3 separate regions of the Homo sapiens genome follow, and all the other regions are linked to region 2. Evidence: promoter capture Hi-C in 16 types of primary human blood cells and fetal thymus (Javierre and others, 2016). All regions are on one chromosome and are shown on one strand. The core of a region is centred on a gene start or on the middle of the fragment in contact, and the rest is flanking DNA. Distances in the headings are between cores, read along the strand shown.

Region 1 (3,987 bases), core at 1,241-3,740, 2.5 Mb after region 2:
TGGGCAGCCTTGCACAGGGTCTCTGTTGCAGGTGGCCACTTCTGTACCACAAGGGAGAACGTGTGTCTGGCAAAGCGTGGTGCTGCCCAGGGTGAGGCCGAGCTGGATGATGCTCCAGTCCTGAACCCCACTCGTGGACACTCACTCACCCATCTCCGGGGTCCGCCCGGCTCCCGGCGCAGCCCATCTACTAGGGCAGCAGCCTCCTCGGGGCTGCCTGGCCGCTGCCCCTGCACACGGGCCTGGATCTCAGGGGGCAGTGCGCCCAGGAACTGCTCCAGCACCAACAGCTCCAGCATCTGCTCCTTGGAGCGTACCTCTGGACGCAGCCACTGGCGACACAGCTCTCGGAGCTGGGCCAGGGCCTCTTGGGGCCCTGTGGCCTCCTCATAGCGGAAGCACCGGAAACGCAGGCGTGCAGCTTCAGGGCCTGGGTCCCATAAGGCAGCCTCACCCTCCTCCTCAGAGTCCTCTAGCTTCACCATGACAGGCCCCTCATCTTCTGGGGGTGCTCGGTCTGGGGAGCCCAGCACCGCAGGCCTCATAGAGGGTACCAGGTCAGGTATCTGAGGCCAGTGTCTGCCCCTGGTGAAGAAATAGGATGAGGCTGTTGCAAAAGGAGTACAGTGAATGCTTCACTGCCTAGTCTATGCTGTACCGTTTGATCCTCAGACCTACCCCATGTGGAAGGCAGATGAGGAAACAGGCAAAGAAAGGCCATCTACAACCCACAGACTTATGCAGCTGGAAGCCCTCCCTTAGCCACCTGTATCCCTGGTCTTCTCTCCGCTTGGGCCTGTGCAAAGTCTCTGACAGTCTCCCTGCTCCAAACACAGGCTTTTTTTTCTTTTCTTTGAGACATGCTGTCAGTCAGTTGCCCAGGCTGAAGTGCAGTGGCGAGATCATGCGTCACTGCAGACTTGACCTCCCGGGCTCCAGAGATCGGCCTCCCAAGTAGCTGAGACAACAGGTGTGTGCCACGACATCCGGCTAATTTCTTAATTTTTCTGTAGGGATGGGATCTTACTATGTTGCCTAGGCTGTTCTTGAACTCCTGGGCTCAAGCAGATGATCCTCTTACCTTGACCTCCCGAAGTGCTGGGACTTACAGGTTTGTTCCACCATGCCAGCCCACAGGCTGTTTTTTAGGACTAGAAGACACTTCTCTCCCCTGTATCCTTCCCTTCTTCTACATGTGCAACCTCATTCCTGCGCTACAGCTCTCTCTTTACCAGGTGGATGGCACCTATACACCTACAGCCTGGGCATCAGCATCACTGCTGGCGTCTCCCCCTACCCAACGCCAGCCCTTACTTCACCTTCTATTCTCTCATCTACTTCGATGTGGCTCCTCATTTGGGCCCCACCATCATTCCCCTCCCTGCTTGGAAGCCTCACTCCACCTAATCCTCCATGTCAACCTGTGCAGTCACTTGTATGGCTCAGCTCCCAGGCAGCACCCTCTCTCCCTACTCAGCCCCATCTTCTAAGCCCAACATCACACTACGCAATGCCCCATCTCAGCTTCCTGATTTAGCTGGGGTTGGAAGGGGATGGGGGAGCTTCGCAATGGGTGGGGGGGCGGCAAAGGCTCCAAGACTGCCGGAACAGGAGCCTGCAAGGAAGTCCCGAGACTCTGATTCCGCCCATCTTCAGATCACTGTGCCTTCGAGAACTTGTTTCCCCATTTGCAAGTGGGGCTGACCTCCCTCCTCGCGCTGTTCCTTCTGCAGCTGCGGCTTTAGGAAGGAATCTGCGTTTATGAAGGGGATGGCACCGCAGAATCATTCCCCCGTGGGTGGCATCGATTTCGAGGGCCGCCTCATCCTGGGGGCCAAGCCTCCACTCTTCAAGGTGCCAAGTCAACCTGAAACCCTGGGAGAGACTTGGGTCATAGCCAAGATGGCAGGTACCTACGGAGGGTCCCGAAATACACTTCCCAGAAGTCCAGGCGGCAACTTCCGCTCCAGGGTGCCAAGGTAGGTCCAGACGACGCCTAGGCAACCGGGGGCGGGGCTCCCAAAGCCTGTCGTCGTGGCAACGAGTAGTGATTGACAAGCCTCTCGCTCTAGCCCTGGGCGCTCCCGCAAGGACTGCCCGGATTCGTTCCCCGCGCTTCCGGTCTCACTGGGGAGCCGGAATCCCCGAGTCTGCAGCCACCGCCCCCGTCCACACGATAGCCCTCCCGGTTAAGAGGACCCCGCCCTCACCTCTGCGCTCAGCGGGCCGCTCCGCGCTCCTGAGCACGCGCAGTCTTCGACTTCCCCCTCCCGCTGGACTACGTCTCCCAGGATGCTCCGCGCACCAGCTCGAGCGCCTCCTTGCCCTTCCCCCACCCTCGTCCCCGTTTCTACACCCTCTCCTCCCTTCCCCTAGCGGTGGTCGCAATGATCAGGTCATACTCCTGGCCGCTTCTTCCCATGCTCCCCGCCTCGAATCCGTGCGTCGGCATGCGCAAGCCTCTCAGGTACAACAGACGGCAGCACCGCCTACCAGATCGCGCATGCCCCCCACCACGTTTTCCTCACTTCTCTACGGGCCTTCCTGAGATTAGCAGGATCCTGCACCAATCACGGCCGTCATTAGAACTCCGTCGGTGCCCCACCGCGTCTCCATGGCAACTCCCTACAGGAAGGGGCCTCTGCTACTTCCTAGACCGCAAAATGGAGAAAGGCTTGGCCCGATGCTTTCCGGCAGATGTAGTCAGCAGGCCCTTCGTGTGTACGTGCGCGCGCGGCGCGATGACGTTCCTCTGTGATCATGGGCGAGGGGCGGGCCCTGAACGTCTCCATGGTAACCTGGGGACACGACTCGACATCGCCTGGGTAACCCGGAGACGCGGCGGGCGTTGAAAATGCAATGGGGCATGTGGGATGAAGAGGTGGGGAAGGGTACTGGGGCAGAGAGATGCCGATCGATAGAAACAGCGAGGAGAGACGGAGAGAGACCAGAGACTCAAGGGCAAAGAGAGACGAAGGACCGGCGGGAGGAAGAGAGAGAGAGACAGAGAGACAGACTCACAGACTGGGAGGACCGGAGACTCGACGCGAGGAGAGACAGTGAAAATAAGTGAACAAACATAGAGACACGGGTCCAAGTTATAAGAGGGCTGAGTGGATCAGAGGGTCAGGGCCGGGCAAACAGGTGTCAGAACAGTTAGCAAGAGAGAGGCAGATCAGAAAGGGATGCAGATGAAAGAGACACAAAGAAGGAAACGCAGAATGGGTTCACAGAGACAAGAAATGCAGATATCCAGACTCAAGAGGTAGACAAGAAGGGAGAGGGACAGAAACAAGAAGGGAGAAAAGGGACAGAAATTAGAGATACAGTAAGATGGATTGACAGTTTTCGAAGACCTAGAGAAAGATGACAGCACGAAGAGAGACAGGGAGAATCCGAGGTAAAACTGTTAGGAAAACTTAGGAGTCCAGATGCTGTCCAGTTATATGCTACCCTGTACAGGTTGATAGGTTGCAAATGCTTTCTGTCCAGTGTATCGCTTTGTAGCTCACTAAGCAGTTTTGTATCCAACTTTGTGCTTTTATTTCAGTGTTTTTCTTTTTCTTTCTTTCTTTTTTTTTTTTTTTTTTTTGACGGAGTCTCGCTGTTGCCAGACTGGAGTGCAGTGGCACGATCTCGGCTCACTGCAACCTCCGTCTCCCAGGTTCAAGCGATTCTCCTGCCTCAGCCTCCCGAGTAGCTGGGACTGCAGGCTGCTCCACCACACCCGGCTGATTTTTGTATTTTTAGTAGAGATGGGGTTTTACCATGTTGGCCAGACTGGTCTTGACCTCCAGACCTCTGGTGATCCGCCCACCTCGGCCTCCCAAATTGCTGGAATTACAGGTGTGAGCCACCGCGGCCGGCCAGTGTTTATTCTTCCTTTCCTGTCTTCCTAGAATCATCTTGCTGCTTCCCTCAGTACGGTAAATAAATCTTTTGACACATGCTCACTGAGAGTCATGTTTTTAACTGTTTTGAAATTAT
Region 2 (3,545 bases), core at 421-2,920:
CCAGGCCTGCCCAGTCCCAGAGCTCTTGGGGAATACAACCCAGTGCCTGCACACACTCTGGCAGTGCACCAGGGAGGGGCCAGGCCGGGTGCCCGGATGGATGGATAAGACATGAGATAAGCAAGCAGGAATCTGATCTGGATGTTCTCTGAGGCCGTGCGTGGCCGGAGGACCACAGGGACTGCGCAGAGGCAGGCAGGTGAATGTCAGCAGCGTTTAGCCAAAGAGGCTTACGGTCTTCAGAGGAGCTAAGCCAGGATCAACGCAACTGTGCTTCCCGGCGCTGGGGTCAATCGGATCCCCAGATGGGTTCTAAGCACTGCGCAACATGGGACCTGGGAGCAGGACACCGCAAAGAGCAGACCAAGCCATTCCTTCCCTAAAGCCCTGACCATCCCCCGGACTGGGCTGGGTCAAAATGCCTTCCCTGGCTCCCACAGCCCCCAGACCTCTCCATCAGGGGTCTGGTCACCTTGGATGGCGACTCTGTCGCCCGGGTCTCAGTCTCTGCCTTCCACCCAGACTCCAAGCCCTTGTTCATCTCCCTGCTCCCTGTCTCTAGTGCCCGGCACAGGGCCTGGCACTGGAAAAACTTCTGCCTCCACTCACTCCTGCCTTCTGTGTCTGTGGGTCACTTTTCTGTGCGACTCTGCAGGTCCCAGAGCACTCATCCACATGAATTGGGGTCAGCTCCCTGGACTGGGGGTCGGGGTGGGGTGTCAGGAGGGCGGGGCTCCACTCTGATCCACTCGGCACAGGGGAGGGAGGCCTCAGGAGTCGCCACCCGATCCAGTCCCCGCCTTCGCCCTGCCCCGTGGGCCACGCGGTGGCTGACCTTGGCCCAGTCACTTCCCCCGCTGGGGACGCGCTTCCTCCCCGCCTGCCGAGCAAGGACGAATGAATGGGCCTCCTGCCGGCCAGAATCCCCGTAATTACCCGCCTGATCAAAGGCCACGCGCAGCCCGCCCGGGGCAGCAACGGGACCCGGGCTGACTCGAAAAGGGGAAGGAAGGGCTGGGGGGGCCGAGGGCTGAGACCGTGCCCTCGGGGCCGCGGTATCCGGCCAGGCCAGCCCAACCGCGCGGCCCCTTCCCCCACCTGGGCCTCAACTTCCCCCCGAAGTCGCCACCACTTCCGGCCACGACCGGCGGAGTTGGAACTTCGGGGGGACGGACAGCGGCCCCACCCCCGACGGCCCGCAGCAGAGGGACCCCCACCGAGGCCCCCGCTCCTGCCCCCGCCACGCGCACGCGCGCGCCCTGGACCCGGACCCGCGCACGCGCACCCCCCCTCCAGCCCCGCTCGCCGCCCGCGGGCCGCCCGGGCGCGCGTCCCCTCCCACAGCTCTTCGGCGCGCACGCGCACTCCCCCCGCCCGCGTCACCCCGGCCGCGCGCCCACTCACGCCCCCCCAGCAGCGCGCACGCGCGCCCGCCGCCCAGTCGCGCTCGCCCTCCAGTCTCCCCACCCACCCCCAGCCCAAGCCCAGCTTCCCGAAGCGCGCGCCCACCTGGCCCCCAGCGCACGGCCCCCGCCCCCACCCCTCACCTCCTTGGTCCCGGGGCCGCCGCGCCGCACTCCTCCTCCTCTCTCCTGCCTCGCGGATGGTGGCAGCGGCGGCAGCGGCGACTCAGACCCTGGGGTCAGGGGGACGGGCGCCCAGGCCGGAAGTGACCTTCCCGGCCGCTTCCGCCCGCGCCGCTCCCCCCCTTCTCCCTACTCCCTGCCCCCCGGGCCGCCACCCTGTCCTCGCCGCTCTAGGAAGGCGAGCCCGCTATCCCGGCCACCGCCCCCAGCTCTGTGGTGCCCGGCGGGCGCCTGAGGGAGCCACTTCCGGAAGTGTCTAGGACGCAGGTCCTCCGTCCATGCTCTATGGCGCCCCGCGCCGAGGGGCTTCGGCCCCGCCCCCTTCCCGGACAGGAGGTGCGGGCTGGGCCCGTTAGGCGGAGACTTCCGGGTGTCTAGGGCGGTGCCCCCCCGACAACCCGGGCTCCTCGCGCCTGCGCGGCCGGGTCCCCGGGCCCGCCGTGAGGAGAGTGAAGTGGTGGAGAGGGACGCTCGTGCCACCCCGGGTCCTCCTACCGTCTCTATCATGGTAACCCCTTCTCTGCCGCTGCACCTCCCAGTGGCCCGAGTCCAGGTGCCTTAGTTACTGGACAGAGACCCCGGGTTCCTTAGTTACTGGACAGAGAGTGCTGCGCTTCAGGTGCCATGGCCTCAGTTTCCTCCTTTCTGAAGTGATGAAAATACATTGTGCGCCTCCAAGTGCTTCACACGCACTAGGTCCTAGTCCTAACTAGGGCCTCATGGTAGGTCCTATCCCTATGTTGCAGGTGAGGAGTCAAATCACCTACCAAAAGTCACACACCCGGAATGCCAGAGCCTCGGCCCGAACCCATGGAGTTTGGCTCTAAATTCGTGTATTTAACCCTTGACTGTACACACTGCCTCGTGTCATAGCCCTGAGAATCCACTACTTCCCCCGCGTTAGGTAGGCACCTAGTAAGGACGCACTGGGTGTTAGCTGTTACTGTTGGTATTCTTGCAAAAAACACATATTTTAAAATAATTGTCCAAACCATAGTGTCCTTGTAGGCTGGTCCTTCTGGTCCTTCCTCTGTTCTGTACTTGGCTGACTCTCACCTAAGTGGCAGATGACTTATCGCTTATAATTGTTATCATCCTCACTGGTAGTCAGAAAAGATAAGAAGCTATAATTCACTGGTGGAATAACACCTTTCTCAGCCTCAATTTCTCATCTGTGGAATGGGAAAAAATAAGATAACCTGCAAGGTAATATGTGTAAGAGCTGCTTAGTTCAATACCTGGCCCATAGTAAGTTCACAAAAATGATGGTGGTTATTATTACCTATTAGCAGTGTTACATATAAGTCTATTGTTGTGGCCACTGTATACCCTCAAAGCTCAGTGAGCATCAATCATAAGATGTATATTATTGATTTAATAACATCTTTCCATGGGGTGGGGTGAACAGTGCTGTGTTAACTGTGTGTGTCAATAGGAGGATATCTGTGTCCCTCCTTCAGAAATATCACAAAGGTAAATTTTTAAATATATCTTAGAACAGAAGGAAGTGTGGCCGGGTGCAGTGGCTGACACCTGTAAATCTCAACACTTTGGGAGGCAGAGGCAGACGTCAGGAGGTCAGGAATTCGAGACTACCCTGGCCAACATAGTGAAACCCCATATCTATTAAAAATACAAAAATTAGCTGGGCGTGGTGGCGGACACCTGTAATCCCAGCTACTCGGGAGGCTGAGGCAGGAGAATGGCTTGAACCTGGGAGGCAGAGGTTGCAGTGAGCTGAGATCGCACCACTGCACTCTTGCCTGGGCGATGGAATGGGACTCCGTCTCAAAAAAAAAAAAAAAAAAAAGAGAGTGAAGTGCTATCATAACAGCAATAGAAACAAATTATTAGGGTACAAACTCTACACGAGGAAACCTGTTTATAAGAAAAGTCATGTGCTTGTGCTCCTCTGAATCAGATCATTCAGTGGGTGTCCTGCAGTGACCTGGTTGTTGG
Region 3 (3,518 bases), core at 445-2,944, 2.0 Mb after region 2:
CAAAACCAAGATGGCAACGAGAGTGACCTCTGGTCCTGCTCCCACTAGCACCATGACAGTTTACAAATGTCATGGAAACATCAGGAAGTTACCCTATATGGCCTAAAAATGGTAGGCATGAATAATCCACCCCTTGTTTAGCATATAATCAAGAAATAACCATAAAAATGGGCGACCAGCAGTTCTTGGGGCTGCTCTATCTATGGAGTAGCCATTTTTTTATTCCTTTACTTTCTTAATAAGCTTGCTTTCACTTTACTCTATGGACTCGCCCTGAATTTTCTTTCCCAAGATATAAGAACCCTCTGTTGGGTTATAGCTCGGGACCCCCTTTCTGGTAACACCTATGCATGTGTCTCAGGCAGGGAGAAGATAAAGATAAAGCTAATGTGGCAAAAAGTGTTAATAATTTTAGAATCTGGATGGTTTTAGAAGTGTTAAACTATTCCTGCAACTTCTATGCAAATGCGGAACTTTTCAAAATGAAAAGTTGGGTGAAGAGAGAGGTAAACAAGCAGTAGAATGGAGGAAAGTCACTTGCTGTGGGAAAAAAGAAAAAACAGACAAAAACTGGGTATTCAAAACGTACTTCAACAAGCCCAAGTTCCTATAGCCAAATTTTTTAACTTGGCAAAAAATAAAGGACCTTTTCAGGCTGATGGTAATTTTAATAAAGGTTTAGGTTGCATTTGTCAAAATTCATCAATGGTACAGGGAATATCTGTGCATTTCACTGAAAGTCAATTTTGGCTCAAAAAATTTAAAAAAGCACTACTGAACTCTAATTCATGGTAAGCATAGTGAGGTGTTTGAGGGAGAAGTGTTGTGATATCTGCAACTTACTTTGAAATGTTTCCAAAAATAGGTGGATTAATGAATGGCTGAAAGGATGGACAGAAGGAAAGATAAGGGATACAGTAAGTTCAGCAGACGTTAACCGGGTCGTTCACTGCACAAGTCTTTCAGCTTCTCTATCTAAACCAACATTTTATGTCATAAAATATTGAGACTGGAAGACTGCACAAAGGAAATATGCCACTAAACCAAGGGAAAAGACAGCAAAATGGTCACTAAACACGTGCAAAAATGCGGCCCTCACTGAGAATTGCAGTAAAACATGATTTTGCAAATATCAAATGGAAAAACACACAGGTGATCTAACACCTTCGAGACTCAAGGGGAAGCGGCTCAGCCCACTGGCTCACGGCCGCCAATTCAGCCGGAGGCCGACCCAAGCCTACACTGCCCCTCACACCTGACAGAAAAGCTGCAGACTCGGGGGTTACCCCCGGAGACGGACCAGGACACCCAGCAGGCGTGGCAAAACAGTCTCTATGGGAGGGCGGGCTAGAGATGCGAGCGCGGAACTCACGGGTGACGCTAAGGAAAGAGCGGGGGCGTCCAGACCAGCCCCGGAGCGACCTCGTCCTCAGAGGAGTGACCCCAATCGCCACGGAGCGTCCCCACCCACCAGGAGAACTACGCCCCTGGCCAGACCCTCGCCCTAGCGGGCCCGACATGCCCACCACCCAGGTGAAACCCACCCGCGGACGCGCCCCTCGCCGCCCCACAAGGACCCGGCGGACCTCCACCCGCCAAGACTTCCCTCCGCAGGAAACGGAGGCAGCGCAGGGCTCAGGGATGCGTCGGCACTTACGGTTGGCGGCCGGCGGCAGCCATGTTCCGGGCGATTGCGCTTGCGCGGCTGCCGGGACAAGGATGTGCGCGTGCGCGGAGTCCCCGAGCTTCCCCCGCCCAACGCTGGGGCGGCCGCGGGTACCGGGTTATTCATTACCCTGGCGTGGACTTGCCTCGGGGCGGACGCGCAGGCATTTACTTTCTCCTATGGTCTCCTCTGATTTTTAACCCGATGCTATCATTCTTTTGTTATAGAGCCTTCCTTTTATTTACTGCATAATTTCCTAAAATATTTCTTTATCTATAATCTTTTTTTGAGATAATAATGTTAAAATTCAGAATAAGTACACTCATTATTCATTGGCAATATAATTATTTACTGGGTGCGTGGCTCACGCCTGTAATCCCAGCATTTTGGGAGGCCTAATTTGTTAAAATGACTAGATCTAAGAAATGTAAACAAAGCCAGTAACTTTCCTCTGTAGTAACAATAGCCGGTTGAAAATGAAAACTACACATTTTCATTCTTTCAGTGGTTCTCTTAAACTTTAGCATGGGGAAGCCTAAATATTTACTGACAGGGAAGAGAGAAACTGTGGTATGTGCAACGGAGCAATAGGGGGTGGTTAAAACAAACGGACTGGGCTCACCTAAGGTCAGGAGTTTGAGACCAGCCTGGCCAACATGGTGAAACCCCGTCTCCACTAAAAATACAAAAATTAGCTAGGCGTGGTGGCAGGCGCCTGTAATCCCAGCTCCTCGGGAGGCTGAGGCAAGAGAATCACTTGAACCTGGGAGGCGGAGGTTGCAGTGAGCTGAGATCGTACCATCACACTCCAGCCTGGGGGACAAGAGGGAGACTTCGTCTCAAAAAAAAAAAAAAAAAAAAGGACTAACTTATATACAAGATAGACAGTTCTCCAAAAACAGTTCGAAAAGTAAACTGTGCACTTATCCACATGATACAACTTACCTGGAAATAAAAGACACAAAATCTATATGTTATACAGAGATTGATACATAAGTAGTAAAGTAACAATAACATGGACCAGATAGATTGTCCAACCTCAAGAAAGTGGCAACTGAGGGGAAAGAGTTGGGGAGGAGACAAAGGAGACCTCAGTTACACCTGTGATGCTTGATAGGAAAAAACAAATCAAAACCTGAAAATCTGACTACATGTTAACACAGGTAAAATCTCGATGATACATGGGTGTCATCTTTATTATTTATAGATTATTCTATTACTCTCCGAACCTCTCCGCAGGTTGAAATACTTCACAATTTTGAAATGAAAATTAGAAAAAAAATTCTAAGCCATAATAGTGATTAAATTGTCACTCACAATAGTGATGGTTGGAGCAACTTGGAAATCAATTAGCAAAAGCAATAAAGGATCTTCATGAAGAAAATACAAAAACCTCATTAACAGACCTGAAGTTAAGTTCAGAACACACTGACATATTATTCCTGAATGGAAAGTATTTTTTTAATTTCTCCATGAAGGCCGTATCAGACCAGGCACAGTGGCTCATGCCTGTAATTCCAACTCTTTGGGAAGCCGGGCTGGGGGGATCACCTGAGGTCAGGAGTTCAAGATGAGCCTGGCCAACATGGTGAAACCCCATCTCTAAAAATATAAAAATTGGCTGGGCACAGTGGCTCATGCCTGCAATCCTAGTACTCGGTCTCAAAAAAAAAAAAAAAATCTTCACAAAACTACTAAACAAAAGTATAGCAATTCCAATTCAAAGACTCCCCCCGCCCCCAGCTCACAGAATAAAACAACTTAAAGATCATATGGAGAAAAGTCCAACAGTATCTGGTTAAAAGAACAGTCGGAGACCGGACGCGGTGGCTCACAACTGTAATCCCAGCAC

The links. The method cuts DNA at HindIII sites, captures the fragments that hold promoters and counts their contacts. A CHiCAGO score of 5 or more calls a contact.
Region 1: the fragment with the promoter of MZF1 here is called in contact with the fragment with the promoter of ZNF787 in region 2 in 1 of 17 cell types (neutrophils); the score reaches 6.7 in neutrophils.
Region 3: the fragment with the promoter of ZNF329 here is called in contact with the fragment with the promoter of ZNF787 in region 2 in 2 of 17 cell types (neutrophils and naive CD8 T cells); the score reaches 9.3 in neutrophils.

Annotation. Positions count from the first base shown.
Region 1 is chr19:58,570,845-58,574,831 of GRCh38, forward strand. It overlaps MZF1 (myeloid zinc finger 1), which reads right to left and starts at 2,491. Exons shown (of 6, transcript NM_198055.2): 1 at 2,211-2,491; 2 at 150-585. The coding sequence starts at 545. It overlaps MZF1-AS1 (MZF1 antisense RNA 1), which reads left to right. Exons shown (of 6, transcript NR_027334.2): 4 at 1,014-1,111; 5 at 1,734-1,979; 6 at 2,073-3,953. RefSeq lists enhancers at 1,196-2,057, 2,058-2,917, 2,286-2,375, 2,436-2,865. The HindIII fragment of the contact is 12,442 bases long and covers 1-3,987 here.
Region 2 is chr19:56,119,625-56,123,169 of GRCh38, forward strand. It overlaps ZNF787 (zinc finger protein 787), which reads right to left and starts at 1,671. Exons shown (of 3, transcript NM_001002836.4): 1 at 1,548-1,671. It overlaps LOC124904772 (a long non-coding RNA gene), which reads left to right and starts at 1,986. Exons shown (of 2, transcript XR_007067348.1): 1 at 1,986-2,308. RefSeq lists enhancers at 716-1,010, 1,438-2,153 and silencers at 758-807, 888-1,207, 1,498-1,577, 1,588-1,707, 1,798-2,167. The HindIII fragment of the contact is 11,888 bases long and covers 1-3,545 here.
Region 3 is chr19:58,149,095-58,152,612 of GRCh38, forward strand. It overlaps ZNF329 (zinc finger protein 329), which reads right to left and starts at 1,695. Exons shown (of 4, transcript NM_024620.4): 1 at 1,658-1,695. RefSeq lists an enhancer at 1,772-1,831. The HindIII fragment of the contact is 7,703 bases long and covers 242-3,518 here.